Regions from separate parts of the Homo sapiens genome. Here regions 2, 3, 4 and 5 are each linked to region 1. The links are contacts of gene promoters, found by promoter capture Hi-C in blood cells and fetal thymus (Javierre and others, 2016). All regions are on one chromosome and are shown on one strand. The core of a region is centred on a gene start or on the middle of the fragment in contact, and the rest is flanking DNA. Distances in the headings are between cores, read along the strand shown.

What was found. The method cuts DNA at HindIII sites, captures the fragments that hold promoters and counts their contacts. A CHiCAGO score of 5 or more calls a contact.
Region 2: a contact is called between a fragment that was not itself captured here and the fragment with the promoter of PRMT2 in region 1, in 1 of 17 cell types (naive CD8 T cells). The highest score is 5.0, in naive CD8 T cells.
Region 3: a fragment that was not itself captured here is called in contact with the fragment with the promoter of PRMT2 in region 1 in 2 of 17 cell types (total CD8 T cells and total B cells); the score reaches 6.3 in total CD8 T cells.
Region 4: a contact is called between the fragment with the promoter of SPATC1L here and the fragment with the promoter of PRMT2 in region 1, in 3 of 17 cell types (M2 macrophages, total CD8 T cells and total CD4 T cells). The highest score is 7.9, in M2 macrophages.
Region 5: a contact is called between a fragment that was not itself captured here and the fragment with the promoter of PRMT2 in region 1, in 2 of 17 cell types (monocytes and naive CD8 T cells). The highest score is 5.7, in monocytes.

Annotation. Positions count from the first base shown.
Region 1 is chr21:46,634,340-46,637,039 of GRCh38, reverse strand. PRMT2 (protein arginine methyltransferase 2) reads right to left here and starts at 1,366. Exons shown (of 12, transcript NM_206962.4): 1 at 1,277-1,366; 2 at 493-601; 3 at 50-144. The coding sequence starts at 88. RefSeq lists silencers at 948-1,497, 1,608-1,827 and an enhancer at 1,598-2,268. The HindIII fragment of the contact is 1,501 bases long and covers 684-2,184 here.
Region 2 is chr21:46,294,142-46,296,841 of GRCh38, reverse strand. It overlaps YBEY (ybeY metalloendoribonuclease), which reads right to left. Exons shown (of 5, transcript NM_001314025.2): 4 at 612-680. Among named protein-coding and RNA genes, the nearest start is that of YBEY, 9.2 kb to the right of the region's middle. RefSeq lists enhancers at 173-467, 894-1,467, 1,713-2,007 and a silencer at 1,713-2,007. The HindIII fragment of the contact is 6,025 bases long and covers 1-2,700 here.
Region 3 is chr21:46,232,826-46,235,525 of GRCh38, reverse strand. MCM3AP (minichromosome maintenance complex component 3 associated protein) reads left to right here. Exons shown (of 28, transcript NM_003906.5): 28 at 100-393. The coding sequence ends at 258. The region is part of intron 2 of MCM3AP-AS1 (MCM3AP antisense RNA 1); the gene reads right to left. Among named protein-coding and RNA genes, the nearest start is that of MCM3AP-AS1, 4.9 kb to the right of the region's middle. The HindIII fragment of the contact is 7,035 bases long and covers 1-2,700 here.
Region 4 is chr21:46,183,189-46,186,070 of GRCh38, reverse strand. SPATC1L (spermatogenesis and centriole associated 1 like) reads left to right here and starts at 1,612. Exons shown (of 5, transcript NM_001142854.2): 1 at 1,612-1,715; 2 at 2,297-2,882. LOC124905045 (a long non-coding RNA gene) reads right to left here and starts at 1,524. Exons shown (of 2, transcript XR_007067914.1): 1 at 884-1,524. RefSeq lists an enhancer at 2,343-2,882. The HindIII fragment of the contact is 9,696 bases long and covers 295-2,882 here.
Region 5 is chr21:46,319,521-46,322,503 of GRCh38, reverse strand. All of the region lies in intron 1 of C21orf58 (chromosome 21 open reading frame 58), which reads left to right. Among named protein-coding and RNA genes, the nearest start is that of C21orf58, 2.9 kb to the left of the region's middle. RefSeq lists a silencer at 1,097-1,359 and an enhancer at 2,965-2,983. The HindIII fragment of the contact is 4,449 bases long and covers 1-2,983 here.

The DNA of each region.
Region 1 (2,700 bases), core at 117-2,616:
TGCTCACATTCATTAAACACAGATTTTTAGGAAGTGGAACGGAAATTACCTGCGATTCACTTCTGGGACAGTCACCTGATGTTGCCATAGTTCTCTTAGGCTCTGCCTCATAACTGCTGATTTATTTCATTTTCTTTTCCATTTCTACTTTTAAAAAGAGAAGGAGACACAAAGTACTTGTTACATTGCTTAATAATTGAGTTCACTTAACTTCTAATGTGCATGATGTCCTCTACCAAATAGAAGTAAAATGTGTATGTGTGAAGATTAGTGTAGAAATGAAAATTTACAATACTTTACAGAGACAAAAGCATTTAAAAATCATAAACTTCAAATAGTGTGTTTTCTTCACTAGTCTGCAAGGTGTTAATCTTGTTCATTTGCTGAAGCCTGTTAGTTTCTGTTAGATCAGGTGTCGACTTAAGGCAATAAATCAGTATTCATTAATTTCTTAGAAGTGTGATAGCTTTAATTCCAATTAAAAGTCCCTACCTGGGACCTTACAGTGTTTCCACTAACAGGAACCAAGGTCTGCATCTTCCAGTCTTTTCCTTCTTCTCAATTCGTATTTTTCCAGTGATAGTGTAATCCACACACTGCTCTGGGATCAATGTGTTTTTAAAATTGCATAGCAATTCTTTGTTTAAAATGCATGCTTCACTTCTAAATCCAGACTTGAAGCTTATTTTTGTGATATTCGTAGTTACAAATGCTTACTGATTTGCATAATTATATTTTCATTGGAAGACCTGGGTCCAAACTGGGACGGGGTCGGAGTGGAGGCCGCAGTGCGCGCAGGACCCTGCCCTCCTAAGATGCCCTCGGGAGGAACAGGATCATGGAGGGTTGGAACAGGTGGCCAGTGAAGGGGGGTGAGAAGGGGGCAGGAAGCGAGAGGGCCACGCGTGGACGCAGGGGCACGAGAGGGTCAGGCTGGGACAGCGCCGCGAGCTTCGGGGCAGGGGCCGCCAGGCAGGTGGGCGTGGCCGCGAAGGGCGTGACAGAGATGGTGGTGGGGTGGGCGTGGCCGTAGAAGGCGCTGGACGGCGGGAGTGGCCGGGAAGGGGTGCGGCACGCAGGGAAGGGTGTGACGGGGACCGAGCTCCCGTTTGGACGCCAGGGAAAGTGGCTGAGATCGCGAAGGCGCTCGGAGGTCCCAAAAGGGGGCGGAGGCCTCTGTCCGCCAGCGACGCACACGCAGTGCGAGGACGCCTCACCTGGCCTGTCCTTCCTTACGTGCAGTCCAGCCATCTGAGCTGCCCATCAGGACACCTACCTCAATCGCGTTTCTCCGCTGAGTTCCGCGTCCACACCGCCAGCGCGGAGGGGTGGACGGTCCTTTCCAGGAGCCTGAGCCACCGCCCTCAACCCGCGCAAGCGCAGTGCACGCAGGCCGTCAGCCGGGAAGGCCCCGCCCAGGGCCCGGCGCCCCGCGCAGGCGCAGTCCTAAGACGTCCCCCATTCCAGGGAAGCCAAGCCACCGCCCTCGACTTGCGCCGGCGCGTCGCTCACAGATCGTCTGCAGCTGGGGCTGCGCCCCGCGCAGGCGCACTTCACATCTGCGCGTCCCGCGGTCTTGCGAGGCGAGGCCAGGTTCTCCATGTGTGGAGCTCGTCCCCAATCGCCCAGCCCAGCCGCGGGGTTGGGGGGCTCGGCTTGGGGTCCGACCCAGAGGGGCGCGGGGCAGGAGTCCGACCTGGGGCGGGGGGCGGGTTTGGGCCATTCACGGCTTGGGAAGCGACAACCCCTACGAGCCACAAAATGGCTGGGGCTTGGGGGACCCCCCACCTCCTCTGTCTTCCCGCAAATAATTCAGTTAACTTTCCCATCCGCGCTGCGCAGTGTGCGCCCTCTGCCTTTCTTCTGGATAAGTGGAAGCAGAATGATGACGTTTCTGTTGTGGGGAGAGGAAGTTTGGGGTTAAGGAGAAATGGGTGGCGCTAATGCCTGTAAAACATAAAATTCGAAGCCCCCCCTCCCCCGCAGCCGTCTGACTGGACTCCCTCCTTTACCAGGGGACCCTGAAGTTCAACCTGAGAGACTATTCTGGCCTCGAAGGGAAGTAAGAGTTGGACATGCCTTTTTACACTCCTCCAGCATTAACATCAAGGCAGACCTTAAGTCTGATTTAAAAAAAAAAATGTGGAAGGAAAATAAATTTGGGGGCCGCAAAATCATTAAGCTTAAAAGGAAAAGTCAAGTTGGGAACTGCTTAGGGCAAACCTGCCTCCCATTCTGTTCAAAGTCATCTCTCAGCTCACTGAGATAAATGCGTATCTGATTGCCACCTCTGGAGAGGCTAACCAGAAACTCAAGGGAATGCAATGATTTGTCTCATATTTACCTATGACCTGGAAGCTCCCTCCTGCCTTTGCTTTGAGTTGTCCCGCCCTTCCGGACCAAACCAATGTTCATCTTACATATATTGATTGATGTCTCATGTCTCCCTAAAACGTATAAAACCAAACTGTGCTCTGACCACCTTGGGCACATGTCATCAGGGCCTCCGACGGCCGTGTCATGGGCGTGCATCCTTAAATTCAGCAAAATAAACTTCCTAAGTTGACTGAGATCTGACTCAGATATTCAAGGTTCACATTTTGGTAACCACAAAGGGATTCTGAGTAGAGGTGCCACTGACCTTTGACAAATCTGTCAGTCCTTAGTACCAGCTTGAGCTATCTTTATGGCTCAAACCAA
Region 2 (2,700 bases), core at 174-2,673, 340 kb after region 1:
TGTATTTTTAGTAGAGACAGGGTTTCTCCATGTTGGCCAGGCTGGTCGCGAACTCCCAACCTCAGTTGATCCGCCTGCCTCGGCCTCCCAAAGTGCTGGGATTACAGGCGTGAGCCACTGCGCCCGGCCAAACTTTTTCTTTTTTTAATGAAAAAGGTTTTTCATGACTTTCAGAGAAGCAGTTTGCTCCCAACACGGGCTTGCGTGCGTGTTAACCATGTGGACCGGAGCCCACGTGGGCCTCCGTAGGCGGAGCGCATGGGTCTGGAGGAAACCAACCCGGAACTCACTCCACGCAGAGCTCCCGCCTCCGCCCTGGGTCTGGCCTAGTCTCTAGCTGATTGGACCTTTTTGACCAAGCGCCACGTGCTAGTGTCAGCTGTGGCTCTCGGCCTCTGCACTCAGACCGCTTTCCTTAGTGAACACATTCAGCTGGAAGTATTTGGGGAGCCCGGTGTTGAAAGCAAACATCTGTGTCATTTTTACAAGGGCAGGTCTGAGGTCCAGTTCCTGCGGGGGCGGTCAAGATGGAGGGTGGGGGCTGGCAGGGGCCTGGGGGAGCCTCCTTCCCCCACGCACCCCCTCGGTAGTGGGATGGATGGGCTCCTTACCTGCTGCCACTCTGCCTCCGTGCCGTGTGTGAATCCCAGCAAGTGACAGAGTCCGTGGGTGGCCGTCACCTGTCAGAATAATTTTAAACCGGCTCAGAGGATGACCCCACAGGAACCTGCCCCTTCAGGGCCACCCCAGGGCCACAGGCTGCTCTTGGTATGTGGCTGCAGGACCCCAGGGTTGCTGTGAGACCCCTGGGCAGGAATTACAGGCACTCAGCTTCAGTTCCCTTCCATCTAAAATGGAAAGCAAGCAAGCCCCTTTGAGAGTCTTTAGTCAACGTGGATTGCTGTCTGGGCCAGCACTGTGCTGGGGAGGGGCCCCCAGGATGGAACTGCCCAGCCGCAGGAGCAATGGGCAAGGGGGGATGGAATATGAAGAAGTGGGGAGGGGTGGGTGCCACGGGGTGGTGGGGCAGTGGGGCACCGGCCAGGGGTGGCCTCCCTGCCCTAAGAGGGACGAGGCAAGCGCACAGCCCACACCCCAGGTCCAACCCCCAGTCAGGATGGGGCCTCCGGTGGCCCCTGATTTTACTGAACACTCTGGGTAGAGCTTTGGGGCACAGGCAGCACAGGGAGTGCGGGAGAGGTATGAAGGCGGAGGCGGAGGGAGGTGCAGCTGCTGGTGAGTCAGGAAGACCCACAGTCGCCATGTCCCCCTGGAGAGAGGGCTGGATTAAAGCCCACAGGGGAGGGGCACCCGGATGGAGCCCAGAGCTGGGGGAAGAGGAGGAGGAGGAGGAAGAGGAGGGAGGGCCTGTGGACCCTGAGCAGGCACAGCACCAAGGGGGTTTATGGAGCCACATGGGCCATAGGGGTAGCACTCCCCTGGGGTTTGGGTGGAGGGAAGAGGGAGGTCTGGGAGGTGGGTATCCTTGGGGCTGGCGGGAGGTGCCTGGAGACATGGAGGACAAGGCAGGGTAGATGGAGAGTGCAGCTGAGAGCCAGCCCTGAGCAGAGCTGGCCTGGCCTGTGGCTATGAGGATGGGGTCCTGGGCTGGTGGGCTGGCCCTCCCCTCAGGGTAATAGGGAGCCCCAAGGAGAGGGCTCTGGGCCCGAGGAAGAAATGCCAGGGGAAGACCAGGGAACAGAATCTTAGGTTTGGGGAAAATGGAAGCAGATGTCCACATACCCCCCCGCCCACAGTTGCTGGCCACAGAGATCCCAGGGCTGAATCTCCGGCTGGGCCACTTCCTGTCACTCTCAGAAACTCCCTCTTCCCCAGCAGGGTGTGCATGGCGGGCAAGTCCCACCCAGGTCTGGAGGGAGCAGTTGGGGCCCAGGTTCCTGTGTGGCCGTCCCATCCTTTCACACTGGGTCTGGCTGGGAAGCTCTGCCTCAAGCCACACAGATGCACTTGGATCCACAAGGGCGATTCAGGGCATGGCTGTGCAGCCAAAGGAGGCCAAGTTAAGTATGATTCACTCATACATGGCTTTTCAGAATGCTTTTCCTTTTTTTTTTTTTTTTTTGGCATCAAGCTGCTGAAACCACCTGTGCAAAAATGATAACAGTGAGAGAGGTCTGGGGTGGCTGACTCCACTGAGTCCCGGGCACGGGTCAGGCTAACCGCGGGAGGAATTTAATCTAGAGTCTAACTTGCGTGGCTGTCCCCACTGAGTCCCGGGCACGGGTCAGGCTAACCGCGGGAGGAATTTAATCTAGAGTTTAACTTGTGTGGCTGACTCCACTGAGTCCCGGGCACGGGTCAGGCTAACCGCGGGAGGAATTTAATCTAGAGTCTAACTTGCGTGGCTGTCCCCACTGAGTCCCGGGCACGGGTCAGGCTAACCGCGGGAGGAATTTAATCTAGAGTTTAACTTGTGTGGCTGTCCCCACTGAGTCCCGGGCACGGGTCAGGCTAACCGCGGGAGGAATTTAATCTAGAGTTTAACTTGCGTGGCTGACTCCACTGAGTCCCGGGCACGGGTCAGGCTAACCGCGGGAGGAATTTAATCTAGAGTCTAACTTGCGTGGCTGACTCCACTGAGTCCCGGGCACGGGTCAGGCTAACCGCGGGAGGAATTTAATCTAGAGTTTAACTTGTGTGGCTGACTCCACTGAGTCCCGGGCACAGGTCAGGCTAACC
Region 3 (2,700 bases), core at 1-2,500, 400 kb after region 1:
ATGAGGTTTCTAACATGATCCAGATCTAGTACCTTCCCAGAGATAGGTCGTGGTTTATTGACATCCCAAAACTGTTCAGTTTCTTTTTTATTCAAATAGAGTGACATGATGAGGGAGCAACTGCAGCTGTCAGAGGCGACAGGAACGTGTCTAGGCGAACGACTAAAGCACCTGGAAAGGCTGATCCGGAGTTCAAGGGAAGAGGAAGTTGCCTCTGAGCTCCATCTCTCTGCGCTGCTAGACATGGTGGACATTTGAGCAGCCTGACCTGTGGGGAGGGGGTCTCTCCCGAAGAGTTTCTGTTTTTACTCAAAATAATGTTATTCTCAGATGCTTGATGCACTGTTGGAAATGTGATTAATTTAATCATGCAGATAAACCATTTAAATGTCAGTCTCCCAGTTTTTCATAATGAAAAGTTGTTTCCCCTGTGTGACCTCTTCAATATTCTCCTATATTCATGACCTCCTCAGATTGTCACCCACCAGCATATGCTCTGAGGCAGTTTAGAGCTTACATTTCCATGTATAAAAGGCGATTCATTCTCTCAGCAAACTTGCAGTCCTTGATGTGCCAGACATCAGTGATGCAGAGATAAAGTAAGACACAGGGCCTCTGCCTGCTAAGCCCACCCAGCTTACATCCAGGAGAGTCAGGTACTTATGTACATAATTCTCAGAGAATGTGCATGAGGCGTGGGCCTGAATTGGTAGCAAGGAAAAAACAGAGGATGGAACAGGGTCTGGTTGGGTAGAGGAGAAACAGAATTCCCGGAGAGGAGTGCAGGGGTGTAGCTGGAGACAGTGTACTTGAGAGGACATGATGAAAGCGTGGAGGTACCAGCTTGGTTGTGTGGCCAGGTGAGGGGAACAGGCCAGCAGGGTGAGGTCAGAGATTCTTGTCACCTTCTTCTGAGAGCTGTGAGAACCCGTTGTTGAAGATTAGGCAGAGAAGTGATCTGGTCACATTTTCTTTTAAGAATGGCATGTAGGGCAGGAATCTTGAGAGGTGGGTGCTGCAGCCATCCAGGTGAAATTCAAAGGGAATAAGCGTGAGTTTGTTAGCAATTGGTGTGAAGAGAGGGGATAAAATTTGAGCCATATACAGAAAGAGGTATTAATAGACTTGGTGATGTTGCGTATGACCACCAATCTTAAACTGGCACTCAGCATCTCCTGACTGTAATCCTACATCCCCAGACTCTATTTCATGTCTTCTCATTCTCTTCAAACCTCCAACATTCTTAGATCATGTCCTCCTTATTTCACTGAGAAAACAACAGCACTAAGAAGAGAACCTCTTCCTCCACCAAATCAATCCCTGCTTCTCCAAACACACACTACTCAACTCAGGGATCTTTAGTGATTAGCTTCATGTAAAGACTTAAATAATGCTATTTCTTAATCTTGACTTGACATTGTTGACTTCCTACAATGGAAGAGGAGTTAGCTTCTCTTACACTGTCTTTCCCACAACATATTATCACCCCCACCCTCGACACCCACATTTCCTCTCCTATTAGTCTCCCTAAGCAGTTTGATATTGGCTGAAACCTGCATTCACAGTTTAGTATAACTGTATGTTTACCATTTCCTGTTGAGCCCTTTATTGGTTTATGATTACATTTCCTTTAGGTACAACTTTTGATTTTTCCTGGAGTTAATTACATTGTTTTTCTCATTTGCTTGGTTTTCTATGCTCTTGTCACTACTTTACCCAAAAGTCGCTGCCCTAAATGTAAAGCTCTTCCCAACAAAGTCATGTGCATCAGGTAATATGCTCCACTTTCTCTTCGAGATGTTCCTGAGAACCCCCTGTCTTCTTGCCATAACTTGGACATTTCCTGGATTCTGAATCATATTTTCCTCTTGCTTGGTTTTCTCTTCTTGATGGAGCCTGTCCTTTAGTAGCCTCCTGAGCTTGAATATCTAAAATGTCTTTATTTCTACTGTAATATTATCAAATATATATCTGGTCTTTGTCTCTGCCTTCTGATATACAACTCCTAAAATCCTTGAGATCTCTAAAGTGATGTCTTTTTGTATGCTAGTAAGATGACTGATGGCGGACAGCTCCTATGTAGCTTCAGGATAGGGACTGGACATCTGAAAGACCAGGGCATGATTAGAGGGGTTGAAACTTTCAGCCCACCCCCCAAACTCCCAGAGGTTGGGGGAGAGGGACTGAAAGTGACGTTGATCGCCAGTGGCCAATGATTTAATCAATCATGCCTATGTAATGAGGGCTCCTAAAAACCCAAAAGGACAGGGTTCAGAGAGCTTGTGGATAGCCAAATGTGTGGGGGCTTCCAGGAAGGTGGACAAGAACACGTCCACATGCTGAGAGAATGGCACTTCGCAACTCCTTGCAGACAGAAGCTCCTGCTCTTGGGACTCTTCTAGGCTTCATCCTGTGTATCTTTTCATCTGGCTATTTGTAGCCTTTAAAATAGCCTTGTAATAAACATGTGTTTCCCTGAGTTCTGTGAACTGCTCTTGTAAATTAAAGCCAAGGAAGGGGTCTTGGGAACCCAGAAGGACAGGTAAAACAACCTGGGGCTTGTGATTGACACTGGACATGGGGCTCAGTCTTGCGGCACAGAGTCCTCAACTTGTGTGATCTGCTGCTATCTCCAGGTAGACGGTGCAGGATTGAAGCGGATACCCAGCTGGTGTCTGCTGTACAGCTGAATGCTTGCTT
Region 4 (2,882 bases), core at 363-2,862, 450 kb after region 1:
CTTTGCAGAGCAGAAAGTTTCAGTTTCATTAATTAAAGTATTTTATTGAGACAGGGTCTCACTTTGTCACGCAAGTTAGAGCACAGCCGCGCAACCACAGTTCACTGTAGCCTCGACCTCCCAGGCTCAAGCAATCCTCCCACCTCAGTGTTCCGAGTAGCTGGGACAACAGACACGCACCACCACATCTGCCTAATCTTCTGACTGTTTTCTACAGATGGGGTGTCCTTCTCTTTTGATAACTTTGGTAGGGTTTGTCCATTTCCTGTGGTTGTGGAGCACGGGCATCAAGCTTTAACTACACCCCACAAATTCTAATGTCATGTTTTTATTCTCATTCAACTTGAAATATTCTCTGGTTTCCTTCGTGCTTTTGTCTTTTTCAAGACTTTTTTAAGAGGAGTTTTAGGTTCTTAGCAAAATTGAGAGGAAGATAGAGAGATTTCCCCACTCGCTGCCCCAACAAATGCACAGCCTCCCCTATTATCAACAAACTACCTGACAGCCACAATTGTCAGCAAAACGCACATGAGGGAAAAATATAAAATATAAGTAGCGTTGTATCTATTTAAGAAATTGATTTAGAAATTTAAAACTTTTCCAGAAGAAATCTAGTTCTAGATAGCTTCACAGATGAATTCTATCCGACGTTTAAGAAGGAACACCCAGAAAATGGCGCAGAATCTCTGCGGCTCATTTTAAAAGGCCAGTGTTCCAAAGCCAGACCGAGACATCACAAGAAAAGGAGATTCAGATCGACTTCCCCTGTGAGCATAAAAATACTTAAAATATTAATAAATTGAATCCAGCGCTATATTAAAAGGATAATGTGTCAAGACCAGAAAACTGTCAGAATGTTGATAGGTCCGTGGCTGGAGAGTACCTGACGTCAAGAGAAGGTTTCCTTGGAGCGGGAGGAAGACGGCATTTAAAATATGATGGGAGGAGCCAGGGCAGGAAAAGCCATTCAGGGCCCCGTCGGGCTCAGAGCGGGGGGCGCATCCGTGACTCATCCCTCGCTTCTCTCTCTGCCCTGCATCCTGGACGCCCTGCATGCCCTCGTCAGTGGGCTGTGGCTGGGCCCCCGTTGTCTTGATCTGAGGTGTGAGCCCTGTGGTGCAACACCAGGCTGGTTGGGTTGTGTCAGGAACGCTTGGGGTGTAGAAACCTCCTTTCTCCACAAAGCCTGACTCAAGACTTTCTCTCCTAGAAGCAACCTTCCCCTAATCTGGCCGCCCGGGCTGAATGAAGGTGGTGTTCTCCCAGGGGCATCTGCACCTGAGTGCCCTTGGTGGTCCTGAGTGCCCGTCACAGGGCTGGAGGTGTGGCCGGCCCACTGGGATGGTGGTGGTGGTGGGTGCCCATCACAGGGCTGGAGGTGTGGCCGGCCCACTGGGTTGGTGGTGGTGGGTGCCCGTCACAGGGCTGGAGGTGTGGCCGGCCCACTGGGTTGGTGGTGGTGGGTGCCCGTCACAGGGCTGGAGGTGTGGCCGGCCCACTGGGTTGGTGGTGGTGGGTGCCCGTCACAGGGCTGGAGGTGTGGCCGGCCCACTGGGTTGGTGGTGGTGGGTGCCCGTCACAGGGCTGGAGGTGTGGCCGGCCCACTGGGTTGTGCTTTCTGCCGTACGTCCCTTCCCATGAGGATGAGATGACCCATCTGTTGCATCCCGGCTGCTGATAAAACAAGACCCTCGGAGCCAAGAAACAACACTGAGGTGATTTACTTTCCCAAGTAATTGAAGCAGGGAGTCAGGGTGGGTTTCAAGTCGGTCGCACTGACTGAGGACAGACGCCTGCTCTAGCAGGGCCCCATGAGCCGCAGCCCTGTGTGACGGCCCGAGGGGCCGTGGCCATGGGTTGGGGGCGTCCTCAGTTACGTGCAGGCAGGAGCAGTGCAGTCAGGAACAATTGGTGTCTTAGACACGGGCGCTCGTGGTCTGAGGGGTGGACATGCACTGCTGGACCCTTCTCATCAGGGAGTGAGGTCAGTAGGTGGCCTCCAGCCCAGCCCTCAGGGCCACCCAGTGCTCCAAAGCATGTGGGGGCCATCGTGGGGCTGCCTCAGGCTGGTCTCCCCACCCTAGGCTGGTCTCCCCCGCAAGACTGGTCTCCTCCCCCAGGCTGGTCTCCCCCACAAGGCTGGTCTCCTCCCCCAGGCTGGTCTCCTCACCAGGCTGGTCTCCTCCCCCAGGCTGATCTCCCCGCCCAGGCTGGTCTCCCCCGCAGGCTGGTCTCCCCCGCAAGCTGGTCTCCTCCCCCAGGCTGGTCTCCTCACCAGGCTGGTCTCCTCCCCCAGGCTGATCTCCCCGCCCAGGCTGGTCTCCCCCGCAGGCTGGTCTCCCCCGCAAGCTGGTCTCCTCCCCCAGGCTGGTCTCCTCACCAGGCTGGTCTCCTCCCCCAGGCTGATCTCCCCGCCCAGGCTGGTCTCCCCCGCAGGCTGGTCTCCCCCACAAGGCTGGTCTCCTCCCCCAGGCTGGTCTCCTCACCAGGCTGGTCTCCTCCCCCAGGCTGATCTCCCCGCCCAGGCTGGTCTCCCCCGCAGGCTGGTCTCCCCCGCAAGCTGGTCTCCCCTGCAGGCTGGTCTCCTCCCCAGGCTGGTCTCCCCCGCAGACTGGTCTCCCCCACAAGCTGGTCTCCCCACCAGGCTGGTCTCCCCCACATGCTGGTCTCCTCCCACTGCCCTTGCCAGTCCCTCCCTCCTCAAGTGTGGGTGCCAAGGACGGACCCTGATGAACACCTGCACATCAGTTGCTGCCCTGGGTGCCAGGGTCCACAGGAAGCTGCACTGGGAACCCTGTGTCCTGGGCAGGTCCTATGGGAAGTGCAGCCCACATGTTACTCGGGTGAAGGCAGCGTCCCCACCCAGCTTGAGGACACCACAC
Region 5 (2,983 bases), core at 204-2,703, 310 kb after region 1:
GATCACACTTTCCAGGAACAGAGACCCAGACCGCGCCTGAATCTCACAACTGTTACGTGTTACAATACATTTACAACTGTGGGACTGAGGGGATGTGCCCAGGTTTGCCTAGACTGTGTTCCTCAGAACCCCAGAGTCGTTTCTGTGGACATCCTAGAGAGGTTCTGCTAATGTTGGACTTGGGTCTTATTTCAGTTCTTTTTTCTTTTCTTTTTTATAGGCAGGGTCTCAGTCTGTCACACAGGCTAGAGTGCAGTGGTGAGACCACCGCTCATTGCAGCCTCAACTTCCCCGGGCTCAGGTGATTCTCCATGTCAGCCTCCTGAGCAGCTGGAATTACAGGCACACCACCATGCCCAGCTAATTTTTGTATTTTTAGTAGACACAGGGTCTCACTGTGTTGCCCAGGCTGGTCTTGAACTCCTGGGCTCAAGTGATCCACCTGCCTTGGCCTCTCAAAGTGCTGGAGTTACAGGCATGAGCAACCTCGCCCAGCCTCAATTCATTTTAAACTATTAAAAAGCTGTCAAGGCCAGGCAACCACTGCACTCCAACCTGGGTGACAGACTGAGACCCTAACTCAAAAAAAAAAAAAAAAAAAAGCTGCCCAGATAAATTTTGTAGATACTCACCCTCAAGGAGGGAAACGTAACTCCCCTCTCCTTAAGTGTAGACCACACATAGCCACTTCCTCCCAAAGAGTGCAATAAAGAAAAGGAGGGAAAGAGCCACTTTATTGTGGAGAAAACTGGCAGACTCCACCTCAGCCAAGTGACGCAGGTCAGCCTCACAGTTATAGTCGAGGTGACAGTGTGTGTCCCTGATGTGATGGGGTGACAGTGGCACTTCACCCCTAGATGCTTCCTTTCTGTAACCTGCAGTCCCAGTCTAACCAGGAGATAATAGACACATTTTAATTGAGGGACATTCTTCAAAATATCTGCCCAGTACTCTTCGAAACTGTCAAGGTCATCAAAAACGAGGAAAGTCTGAGAAGGAGCCTAAAGACACATAACTCAATGTAATGGGGTGTTCTGATGGATACCACATTAGGGACATGAGGCAAACCTAAGGAAACTGTCAAAGTGTGGACTTCAGTTACTTGTGTCTCAATATTGGTTCATTAATCATAACAAATGGGCCAGGTGCACTGGCTTTCACTCAAAAATTAGCTGGGCATGATGGCACGTACCTGTAGTCCCAGCTACTCGAGAGGCTGAGGCAGAAGAATCGCTTGAAACTGGGAAGCAGAGGTTGCAGTGAGCCAAGATTGCACCATTGCACTCTAGCCTGGGCGTCGCAGCGAGACTCTGTCTCAAAAAAAATATATATATATATAACATATGTAGCACACTAAGGTAAGATGTTAATAAGAGGGGAAGCCACACATGTGGTATGTGGGATCTCCATGTACTATCTTCTCAATTACTCTAAATCTAAAACTGTTCTTAAAAACCCTATTTAAAAAAAAAGTCTGACAAATCCATGCCCTCTGGAGCATGTTATGTATACTACTAGAGATCCCGAGGAGGCAATTCTTAGTGCTTCCCATTCACTTGGCAGTCACAGCTGTGGGCACACAGGCTCAAGTCTCTCCTTAAGTCAGTCAGTATTACAAACCATACATAATAGTATACTTGACCACTGCATAAATGTTATAAACATTCCACATCAAGAGAAAGAGGAGAGGAAAAAAAGTTAACCAGTTCAACGAAAAGGAGAATCTGGCAAGGAAGCATCTCTGATGTGGGCAGAGCCTGCAGCAGCAGATGTGGAGGGCTTCTCACAAGTGACAGCAAGACTGTCTGTAAAACGGCCACTTTGACCTGGTGGTGTTCTGCTCTTTTCATGGCCATAGAGTACTCTGGTAAGGACTGATAGTAAGAGTGTCTTGTTTATGTCTTTATCTGGGTGGGTGCAGTATCTACTGATGAGGAAACATCTGGTCCCTGTTGGCCTGATACCCTTTTTTTTTTTTTTTTTTTTTTTTTGAGGTGGAGTTACACTCTTGTTGCCCAGGATGGAGTGCAGTAGTGGTGCCACCTTGGCTCACTGCAACTTCCGCCTGCCTGGCCCTATCTTATAATTTAAAAGGCATCAGGGGCCAGGTGCTATGGCTCACACCTCTAATCCTAGCACTTTGGGAGGCCAAGACGGCAGATCACTTGAGGTCAGGAGTTCGAGACCAGTCTGGCCAACATGGTGAAACCCCATCTCTACCAAAAATACAAAGATTAACTGGGCGTGGTGGCGTGCACCTGTACTCCCAGCTACTCGGGAGGCTGAGGCAGGAGAATCACTTGAACCCGGGAGGCGGAGGTTGCAGTGAGCTGAGATGGCTCCACCTCTGCACTCCAGCCTGGGCAACGAGCAAAACTCCATCTCAAAAAAAAATACATAAGATGGAGTCCTTTTCTCAGATGAGGTCACTTATATCAAGGGTGCTCTATACAGTTGCTTAACTAAATTAACCTGGTTTTTGTTCTGTGCACACTCAGAGCTGTTTAAATGTCTCCCAAGACTGTCACTGTTAATGACTGTGGACAAGAGCCAGGTTCTTTTATTATCTTGTTTATTTATTTTTTTATTTTTTTTATTTTTTTTCCAGACGGAGGTTTTGCTCTTGTTGCCCAGGCTGGAGTGCTGTGGCGCAATCTTGGGTCACTGCAAACTCTGCCTTCCGATTTCAAGCAATTCTCCTGCCTCAGCCTCCCGAGTAGCTGGGATTACAGGCGCCTACCACGACGCCTGGCTAATTTTTTGTATTTTTAGTAGAGACGGGGTTTCACCATGTTGGCCAGGTTGTCTCGACCTCCTGACCTCGTGATCTGCCTGCCTCAGCCTCCCTAAGTGCTGGGATTACAGGCATGAGCCACCGCACCTGGCCCTTTTTTATTATTTTTTATAGAGATGGGGTCTTGTTGTGTTGTGCCGGCTGGTCTCCAACTCGTGGACTCAAGTGATCCTTCTGCCTTGGCCTCCC